Linked DNA regions of Homo sapiens: region 2 is linked to region 1. The links are contacts of gene promoters, found by promoter capture Hi-C in blood cells and fetal thymus (Javierre and others, 2016). All regions are on one chromosome and are shown on one strand. Each heading gives the region's core, a stretch centred on a gene start or on the middle of the fragment in contact. The rest is flanking DNA. Distances are from core to core; before and after follow the strand shown.

Evidence for each region. Contacts are between HindIII fragments. The CHiCAGO score rates a contact against its expected background, and 5 or more counts as called.
Region 2: a fragment that was not itself captured here is called in contact with the fragment with the promoter of PROC in region 1 in 1 of 17 cell types (neutrophils); the score reaches 6.5 in neutrophils.

Annotation. Positions count from the first base shown.
Region 1 is chr2:127,414,439-127,419,747 of GRCh38, forward strand. It overlaps PROC (protein C, inactivator of coagulation factors Va and VIIIa), which reads left to right and starts at 3,989. Exons shown (of 9, transcript NM_000312.4): 1 at 3,989-4,054. RefSeq lists enhancers at 950-1,712, 2,093-2,152. The HindIII fragment of the contact is 16,432 bases long and covers 2,227-5,309 here.
Region 2 is chr2:127,300,072-127,304,902 of GRCh38, forward strand. It overlaps MAP3K2 (mitogen-activated protein kinase kinase kinase 2), which reads right to left. Exons shown (of 17, transcript NM_001371910.2): 17 at 1-4,831. Among named protein-coding and RNA genes, the nearest start is that of ERCC3, 8.3 kb to the left of the region's middle. The HindIII fragment of the contact is 2,726 bases long and covers 2,010-4,735 here.

The DNA of each region.
Region 1 (5,309 bases), core at 2,739-5,238:
GGAGGCTGAGGCAGGAGAATCACTTGAACCCAGGAGGTGGAGATTGCAGCGAGCTGAGATCACACCACTGCACTCCAGCCTGGGCAAGAGAGCAAGACACCAACTCAAAAAAATATATATATGTGCTGTAGGATTCCCTTTATATGCTATTCTAGAAAATGCAGATTATAGAGATAGAAATCCAATCAGTGGTTGCCAAGAGTTGGGGTGGAACACAGAATTTCTGAGGGTGATGAAAATGTGTATATCATGATGTGGTGGTGGATGCACTATAACATACATTTGTCAAAACAAGCAGAACTGTACATTTTTAAAGTGTGAGTTTCCCTGTGTGTAAATTATACCACAATAACCTGACAACAACAAAAGAGAGAGACGTTGGACTGCATCCATCCCACTCCACTTCTTACCAGGGAGCTCCCGGGAGCCTCTCTAGTGTCTGTCCTCCCTGCCCTGCCTGGGGTGGGCTGAGCAGCACAGCGTCCCTGCAGAGAGAATGGAGAATGGGCAATGCCCACACAGGGGAGTGGCATGGGGTGAGAAGGAACCTTAGTCCCGTCAGCCCTGACCACCAGCCCATCTCTCATCACTGTTCAGCAGAGTGAGCTCAAGTTGGGTTTCTGGCATCTATTGGCAGAGCCAGGGCCAAAACGCAAGGGGTGGGGAGTGTTGTACAGGTTAGGGCTGACTGAATGATCAGCCCTAATCTGTACAACGGATCTGTGCAGTCTGAGCTTCCACACAGCAGCAGCTGTCCTTGACCCCTTCCCCTCCTAGTCGGCCCCTCCCTGACCTTCCCAGGCCTGTGGGAAGTCCTGTTAAGTCCCAGGCCATGTCCACTTTGTATAAAATACTTAAAAATAAGGCCAGGCACAGTGGCTCCCGCCTGTAATCTCAGCACTTTGGCAGGCTGAGGAGGGAGGATCACTTGAGGTCAGGAGTTCTAGAGCAACACAGCAAGACCTCCTCTCTCCTAAAAATTTTTAAAAATCAGCTGGGCGTGGTGGCACGGGCCTGTGATCCCAGCTACTGAGGTGGCTGAAACAGAAGAATCGCTTGAGCCCAGGAGATCTAGGCCGCAGAGAGCTGTGATCCCGCCACTGCACTCCAGCCTGGGTGACAGAGCCAGAGAGACCCTGTTTCAAAACTTTTTTAATTAAAAAATTAATAAAAGATTTAACGTGACCCTTATAACAGTCACCTGAGACGGACGCTGACCCCATTTTACAAATGTGGACATTGAGACACAGGGAAGTTAAATCCCCCTGTCAGAAAAAGGCTAGCGGAGGTTTAAGGCCGTGGGAACGTGACTCCAGAGCTGAGGGCTTTGGAACCCCGCCTGCTCCGGTAGTTGTGGCTGGCCTTGCCCCACACACATTTGGTTCTAGCTCCTTTGCTTGGGTCTTCATCCATGCAGCGAATTCCTTAGCCACAGGTGTCCCTCTGCTCTCTAACTCACAGCGAGCTCGCTGCCCAAAGTCCTGCTCCGGCTTCCTGGGTGGACCTGACCGCGTTCGGGTGCACGTGGGGCGACTCACACCTGACAAGTAAAGCGGGTGAGGCCGCGCCTGTGAAGGGCGCCTGGCTCCTCCGCAGGAGCGGTGCGGCGCGGCGCCCCCGGCTGGAACCAGGTGTAACTGCAGAGACCCTGGGATCGCAGGAACGGCTGGCGGCAGGACTGTCCCTACCTCGAGAAGGTGACGGGGTTTCCTGCGCTGCCAGCCGATGAGGCGGCCGTGACGCAGCCCGCCGTGCAGAGTCCCCGTCGGCCGACAGGCGTGCAGAGCTCTGCAGAGGACCCTTCCGCCCTCTGGGCAGCCTGCCAAGCCGTGGCACCCCCAACCCCCAGCACTGGGCACTTGGGAGCATTGCAGCCGCCCTGGCTCGTACCGGTGCCGGTGCTTTGGGCACCTGGGCTGGTTTGGACATGGGTGCCCCGGGCAGAGTCCATTTATGCAGGTCAGAATCAGTGTGTGGAGCCTGCATAGACTTGCCCTGGAGCGGCTGCCTGTGCTGGGGTGGGGAGGAGTAGAGGGCGAGAAGTTGGTGGGGAAGGGAAGCGGCGCCAAAAGAATACCCACAACATCTTGCACCTGGAAGGCAAAGCAGAGGGCAGTGATCTCTGCAGACTTGCGGGGGCGACGCCTGAAGCAAACAGGGACATACAAGCTGGTGCCTTCTGTGGTTGTGCATGGGGTCTTCATGCTTCCTGTCTGAGTTCCCAGAAGCTTGTCTCTGCTTTTCTAGGCAGCTGCCACAGCCTGTCACAAACAGCTCCTGGTTCTCCACTTCTCATAGTCTCGATTTCAAAATCCATTGCCTCACCCTCCACCTCCTCTCCACCTCCACCCCTCCTAGCACCTCCTGACTGCTTGTGTTCTGTGTCTCCCCACTGTCTCCCAACCTGGGGTGGGGTTGGGGGGGATGTCTTTCCTCCTGTCTGCTCTTTGATGTCCAGCTGAAGTGTCACCTCCTACAGGCAGCCTCCCCTGGCTATGCCAGCTTGTACTGATTGCCCTCTCCTCTGAATTCTGTAAGCATTTCCTATGTGTACCTGCCCCTGGGCAAGGTGGGCCTGACTTGTTAGAGTGTTAGAGTTTTACCCTGTTCCTCTAGGAGGGCCTGGTACCACCACAGCCCAGCATGGTGTGGTGCCTCAGCAGGAGGCATCTGGTTACAATCAACACAAGCTGTTCCAGCCAATTTAAAGAAACTTCAGGAGGAATAGGGTTTTAGGAGGGCATGGGGACCCTCCTGCACCCGAAGCCAGGATGTGCCACCAATCATAAGGAGGCAGGGGCCTCCTTCCGCTGCTCCCTGGGACTCTCTAGGTGTCCGTGGCCTCAGTCCCCCTCTGCACACCTGCATCTTCCTTCTCATCAGCTTCCTCTGCTTTAAGCGTAAACATGGATGCCCAGGACCTGGCCTCAATCTTCCGAGTCTGGTACTTATGGTGTACTGACAGTGTGAGACCCTACTCCTCTGATCAATCCCCTGGGTTGGTGACTTCCCTGTGCAATCAATGGAAGCCAGCGAGGCAGGGTCACATGCCCCGTTTAGAGGTGCAGACTTGGAGAAGGAACGTGGGCAAGTCTTCCCAGGAACAGGTAGGGCAGGGAGGAAAGGGGGGCATCTCTGGTGCAGCCCGGTTCGGAGCAGGAAGACGCTTAATAAATGCTGATAGACTGCAGGACACAGGCAAAGGTGCTGAGCTGGACCCTTTATTTCTGCCCTTCTCCCTTCTGGCACCCCGGCCAGGAAATTGCTGCAGCCTTTCTGGAATCCCGTTCATTTTTCTTACTGGTCCACAAAAGGGGCCAAATGGAAGCAGCAAGACCTGAGTTCAAATTAAATCTGCCAACTACCAGCTCAGTGAATCTGGGCGAGTAACACAAAACTTGAGTGTCCTTACCTGAAAAATAGAGGTTAGAGGGATGCTATGTGCCATTGTGTGTGTGTGTTGGGGGTGGGGATTGGGGGTGATTTGTGAGCAATTGGAGGTGAGGGTGGAGCCCAGTGCCCAGCACCTATGCACTGGGGACCCAAAAAGGAGCATCTTCTCATGATTTTATGTATCAGAAATTGGGATGGCATGTCATTGGGACAGCGTCTTTTTTCTTGTATGGTGGCACATAAATACATGTGTCTTATAATTAATGGTATTTTAGATTTGACGAAATATGGAATATTACCTGTTGTGCTGATCTTGGGCAAACTATAATATCTCTGGGCAAAAATGTCCCCATCTGAAAAACAGGGACAACGTTCCTCCCTCAGCCAGCCACTATGGGGCTAAAATGAGACCACATCTGTCAAGGGTTTTGCCCTCACCTCCCTCCCTGCTGGACGGCATCCTTGGTGGGCAGAGGTGGGCTTCGGGCAGAACAAGCCGTGCTGAGCTAGGACCAGGAGTGCTAGTGCCACTGTTTGTCTATGGAGAGGGAGGCCTCAGTGCTGAGGGCCAAGCAAATATTTGTGGTTATGGATTAACTCGAACTCCAGGCTGTCATGGCGGCAGGACGGCGAACTTGCAGTATCTCCACGACCCGCCCCTGTGAGTCCCCCTCCAGGCAGGTCTATGAGGGGTGTGGAGGGAGGGCTGCCCCCGGGAGAAGAGAGCTAGGTGGTGATGAGGGCTGAATCCTCCAGCCAGGGTGCTCAACAAGCCTGAGCTTGGGGTGAAAGGACACAAGGCCCTCCACAGGCCAGGCCTGGCAGCCACAGTCTCAGGTCCCTTTGCCATGCGCCTCCCTCTTTCCAGGCCAAGGGTCCCCAGGGCCCAGGGCCATTCCAACAGACAGTTTGGAGCCCAGGACCCTCCATTCTCCCCACCCCACTTCCACCTTTGGGGGTGTCGGATTTGAACAAATCTCAGAAGTGGCCTCAGAGGGAGTCGGCAAGAATGGAGAGCAGGGTCCGGTAGGGTGTGCAGAGGGCCACGTGGCCTATCCACTGGGGAGGGTTCCTTGATCTCTGGCCACCAGGGCTATCTCTGTGGCCTTTTGGAGCACCTGGTGGTTTGGGGCAGGGGTTGAATTTCCAGGCCTAAAACCACACAGGCCTGGCCTTGAGTCCTGGCTCTGCGAGTAATGCATGGATGTAAACATGGAGACCCAGGACCTTGCCTCAGTCTTCCGAGTCTGGTGCCTGCAGTGTACTGATGGTGTGAGACCCTACTCCTGGAGGATGGGGGACAGAATCTGATCGATCCCCTGGGTTGGTGACTTCCCTGTGCAATCAACGGAGACCAGCAAGGGTTGGATTTTTAATAAACCACTTAACTCCTCCGAGTCTCAGTTTCCCCCTCTATGAAATGGGGTTGACAGCATTAATAACTACCTCTTGGGTGGTTGTGAGCCTTAACTGAAGTCATAATATCTCATGTTTACTGAGCATGAGCTATGTGCAAAGCCTGTTTTGAGAGCTTTATGTGGACTAACTCCTTTAATTCTCACAACACCCTTTAAGGCACAGATACACCACGTTATTCCATCCATTTTACAAATGAGGAAACTGAGGCATGGAGCAGTTAAGCATCTTGCCCAACATTGCCCTCCAGTAAGTGCTGGAGCTGGAATTTGCACCGTGCAGTCTGGCTTCATGGCCTGCCCTGTGAATCCTGTAAAAATTGTTTGAAAGACACCATGAGTGTCCAATCAACGTTAGCTAATATTCTCAGCCCAGTCATCAGACCGGCAGAGGCAGCCACCCCACTGTCCCCAGGGAGGACACAAACATCCTGGCACCCTCTCCACTGCATTCTGGAGCTGCTTTCTAGGCAGGCAGTGTGAGCTCAGCCCCACGTAGAG
Region 2 (4,831 bases), core at 2,123-4,622, 110 kb before region 1:
CTTCAACAAAGAACCATAGATAAGTATAGTTTGTAAAAGCAAAAAGGTCCATTTAAGTCAGTAATAGCAGTGCAGTAACTGATGGCTACATCTTGAAAGAAGTTAAAACATAAAGACACAGACAGTAGTTCAATGCACGCATTCATGATGCTCATACACTCATCAACAATTATTGGTCAGAGTAGTAAATCAGTGTACAAATTAAACATTTCCAAAAATGTGCAAAAATGTCAATCTTAATAGGAAAAAAACCCTTTGTACATAATTATAAACTGCCCAGCATTCAACTGAGATTAAAAACATTTAGAGAGAAACCAATAGGTTAAATATAGAGAATTTAATGGCTACATTTAAAAATGTACATTATTATGTCAAAGGGTAAATTTACAAATTGATAATCATAGTTTGCAACAATTCAAAGTTTATTCTCAAATTTATCCAAGTTTACTTTTATTTACAATGAATAAAAAGAACCATGTGAAATGTAAGAGATGTCAGACATTAAAAGTATTTTTGGTATTAACTCTTATAATATTTCAGAATTCAGGGTAGCAAATTTTAAAACCAATAACAATAGAAAAAATGTAAACCATTTACTAATTAAGATTGCATTAAAACAATTGTTGGTCTTTAAAGAAGTATTCTTATCCTTAGACACTGTACTTTCAATTGAATAGGGTGTATTGCAAGAATTTGGCCCACTTCATATTGCCCATAAGCCTCTCCAGCTCAAATGTTTCAACTAGTCCTCTCTTCTTATTCCAGGTGGAAAAAATTCTTTGGAAAAGTAAGAATACATCAAATCCATTTTGTAGTCTATCTAATAGAGTTTAAGGTGTAATTTTGTTTCTTCTCCCCTCCAAGTAAAGCTAATGCTAAAATCATCACTAGTTACATATGCTTTTAAAAAATAAATTCTAAAAAAATATTTAAAAAGAAGTGAACTTAAAAGTGCTTTTCGGTATGGTCATGAACTTTACTGTTCTCAACTGCATTAAGGGATTCTCAACTGCATTAAGGGATTCAGAAATTATTTGGGGACAAGTCCTGTACATATAGTAGAAGCAGATACTTCCTTATGTTCCAAAATGTCTATGGCACAAAGCAGACATCAGTCCAGAACCTACTTTTCCTCACAGCTTTGCTGAAATGCCCCTCAAGTCAAACATAAGTTCATAAATGTTAAGACACTAGGAAGAAAGTTCGCCATCAACCTGAGGCATCAGACGTTAATGTCTGTCTATGTGAATCAGTGGTCAAGTGACATTAACAAGATTGGCACATGTACAAGCTTAAATTCATGTCTACATAGTTCCTCAATAGTGGAAGTAACTTCTGGATGTCTAAATGCACTGATCACCTGTCCTTTTCCTTGAAGGATATACCAGAATACAAATTCTACTAGTATCTGCTTTATAATTTTTATACTATTAGCTTACAAGTGGACAGAAGTAACAGTGCTAATTATTTTGGCTATGTGTACAGGGAATATAAAAGCTTTGGTTTAAAGTGATTCTGATAATACAGATTGTGTTACAAACAAGAAGTCATCAGGCAGAAGGAACAATGGTACTGATTTAATGCCTTTGCTGTTATTAACAAAAATACCATATGACTATCAATTAAAATGCACAATTATGAAAAATAAGAATTCTATGAGACTGTATACAGGCAACAGATAAAATCTATTCTTTTCTTTACTGTAGCTATGACTCCTCCCTCATCTTTCTGAAGCTCAACCTTGAATGCTTACAGGACCACTGAAAAAAGAATCTCTAGGCTCCCCCAAGAGCTCATTTCCATCAACAGCTCTGGAAGGTGAGTATGGGAAGATGGGAGGCCCTGATACTTCCCACACCTACCATGGCATCCTGTCCAAACCATGGCAGAAGTCAAAGCCAAGCCAAAGACAACTATAAGTAGGAATAGCTGCTTCACAGCATGCTTCCCCTAGCCAACCAAAAAGAGGTACAAGAGAATTTCCTTGTGAATACTTGGTAAGCTAAGGAAGCTTATTTTGATAATGTTTGGCAGAATTTCAGTTCCAAAAAGTTCAGGAAGAACTATGTAAAATCAATTACTTTCTATTTAAGAATTATATATAAGATTATTTTACATATACACAAATTGAATTTTAATCTACCTTTAGCAACCAAGAGTATGGCAATTTACAATCAATATTATTATACAATCATTTGTACTAGCTACTTCTGGAAAATGTACTGGTGTTCCTACCCAAGGATGACTACACTCACTGTATGTCATCAGTAGGTCATACATTTGAGTTGTTCTTCCAAAACCAGAAACTGACCTAATTGAACACTCATACCTTTCCCCTTCTTCCTTCCCATCCCTGCCTCCAACTCTAACCACACACACACACACACACACATGCATGCAAACGCACACATACATGCACACATGCACACACTTCACAGAAAAGTAACTTTTCTGTGAGTATTACCCAAAATGTTAGCTGAGAATTAAGGACTAGAATCTGCTATCCCTGGATTTCCTACTCACTGTCCTATCTCATTGCCTTAACATTTGTAAACCATGTGAATGACTTCTTTAGGGCAAAAACAAGTATTGTAACTCTACCATGAAAATCATAACTGAACTATAATATGCCAAGAACTTGGACAGTGCCAATGTGATTGAAAATCAAATATTCAACCCAGAAAACATTTACATGTCTCTTTAGAACGAGAATACCTCTTTCTATGCTTGTGTTGGGAATTCATGTCTAGTGGAAGCTGCAGCATGTCTATCACAGACAAATCCTAATGTTTCTCTCCTAACATTTATTTATTTATTTATTTATTTTTTTAAAAAGGAGGTAGAAAAGGGTAGGAGGAGGCAGGCATTAAGAAACATTTAAGGACCAATACACAGTCTAAGGCCAAATGAACTTGTGAAGCCTACTGATTTTGGAAAAAATCTTCATTTTGGTGGGTAACTTGAATTATTAATATAAAATAAAATTAAGGCATACAGAGAAAAGGCACTACTAAAAATTAACAATTGGATTGCTTTTCATTAACATTTAACCAATCTTAAAATTCAAATAAATATGAACATTACATTTGTAAAACAAAGGCCAAACTTAGTAATAAAACAGTATGATCTCAAGGAACTGTCCTGATCTTAGTATAAATAACACTGTTGACAGAGTTCAATTTCTATCAAATGTTTTGGGTATTTTCACAATTTAGACCAAAATAAAGTATGTTTTCTTTAAAAGAGACACTGGGGAAAAAAAAAAAAAAGAACAAAAAAACACTGTTATGGAATAAATGCTCCCCATCACCAGAACTGTTGAGTAGAGGCTGGGTTTTGCAGTAAGAGGGGGTCCTGAGAGAGATGCTATGTGACCTGGTTGGGGAGGGGATCCCTCTAGTTTGGAGATACTTTTACTCTAATCCCTGTTGTCAGTGACATTTCCGTTTATAACAGCCAATGATTACCTAAAATTGCTTTTCCCTTAATAAAAAATAACATTTTAAAACATCATTGCTGAACTTTCAGAGTTAGCGTATGCCATAAAATAAGTAACTGTTTGCCCATGTTCCTCCTAGATTGTGACCTCCTTAAGGATGTTAATTTAGTACCTGACATAATAAGTTACAATTATTGAACAAACAAAGAAGATTCATTCTATTAAAAAAGATAGATTTGTATATTTAATTGACACCAGGTGATTTTATATCAAGCTATCAGTTCCCAGACTCCAAATAAAATCACTGGCACAGAACTTTGCCATAGGCCAAGGAGTCTGCATCTGGCTTGGTCATCCTGCTAAACTATTCACATCTGATTTTATTTTCTAAGTGATTTCACATATCTTATAACAACTCCATGTCAGAAATACTACAGAGCAGATCTGACATATATATGAGCTGGAGTAGCAGAGACTTAGTCTAAAGAAATAGTTTCATCTTTTTAATGCAGTTTCTTTGGGAATAAGGTAAAGACTCTCTCAAGTGAAAGCCAATCCAATTCACTCTGAAATCAAGGTTTAAAATTTTCTTTTACAGTTCAGCAAATGCATTAATATTTTAATTCCTTATATATGTTATGTAAGGGTAACTGTGCCTTTTAAAACTTTCTAAGGCAATAGTCATTTTTTTAAGTTAGAAAGATGTTTTGTAAACAAGGAAAAGTGCTGAAAATTTTCAAGATATTCATACTGAAATTTTCAGTCTGTATACTTTCAAATACATTTTAAATAATTAACAACCCATCAAAATTTCCACTAGTCATTATGATTTTTTTAACCCTTTTATTCAATACAACATTTTGTTTGCAATGTAAAAGATCTTATATTTGGTCCAAGCCTAAGTCATGCCACTTTGAATCTCTCAAGGCCTTAAGTAGAAAGATATTTCCTGAAAAGCACATATAAGACTGCTAGTGAATCTTCTCCAGCACCAAAAAGTCTGCCACTGTCAAAGCAGAATGCATTTTAAAGGCACAAAGTCAGCAGTCTGACCATTTTCCAGCGTCAGCAAAGAAGCATTACAGTATAGAAGAATCAATTGTGCATTTAAGAAACAAAACACATTTAGAGTTATCTTAAAAAGTTCAAATTGCATTTGTTGATCCATATCATTATTAGAAAGAAGAAAAAAACGGAGTGTTATATTTAACTTCCCCTGATAAAGCTGTTTCCTTTCAAAAATTTCTTTTTTAAATTTACTTTTGGTCTTCCATACCCTCCACCCCCACACCTTCAAGCTTTTTTGTTCTAGTAGTTTTTATATATATTAACTTTTATTGTGGTTTTTGGTACCTTCACAACTTGTTTGAAATAAATTCACATCGTATTTTA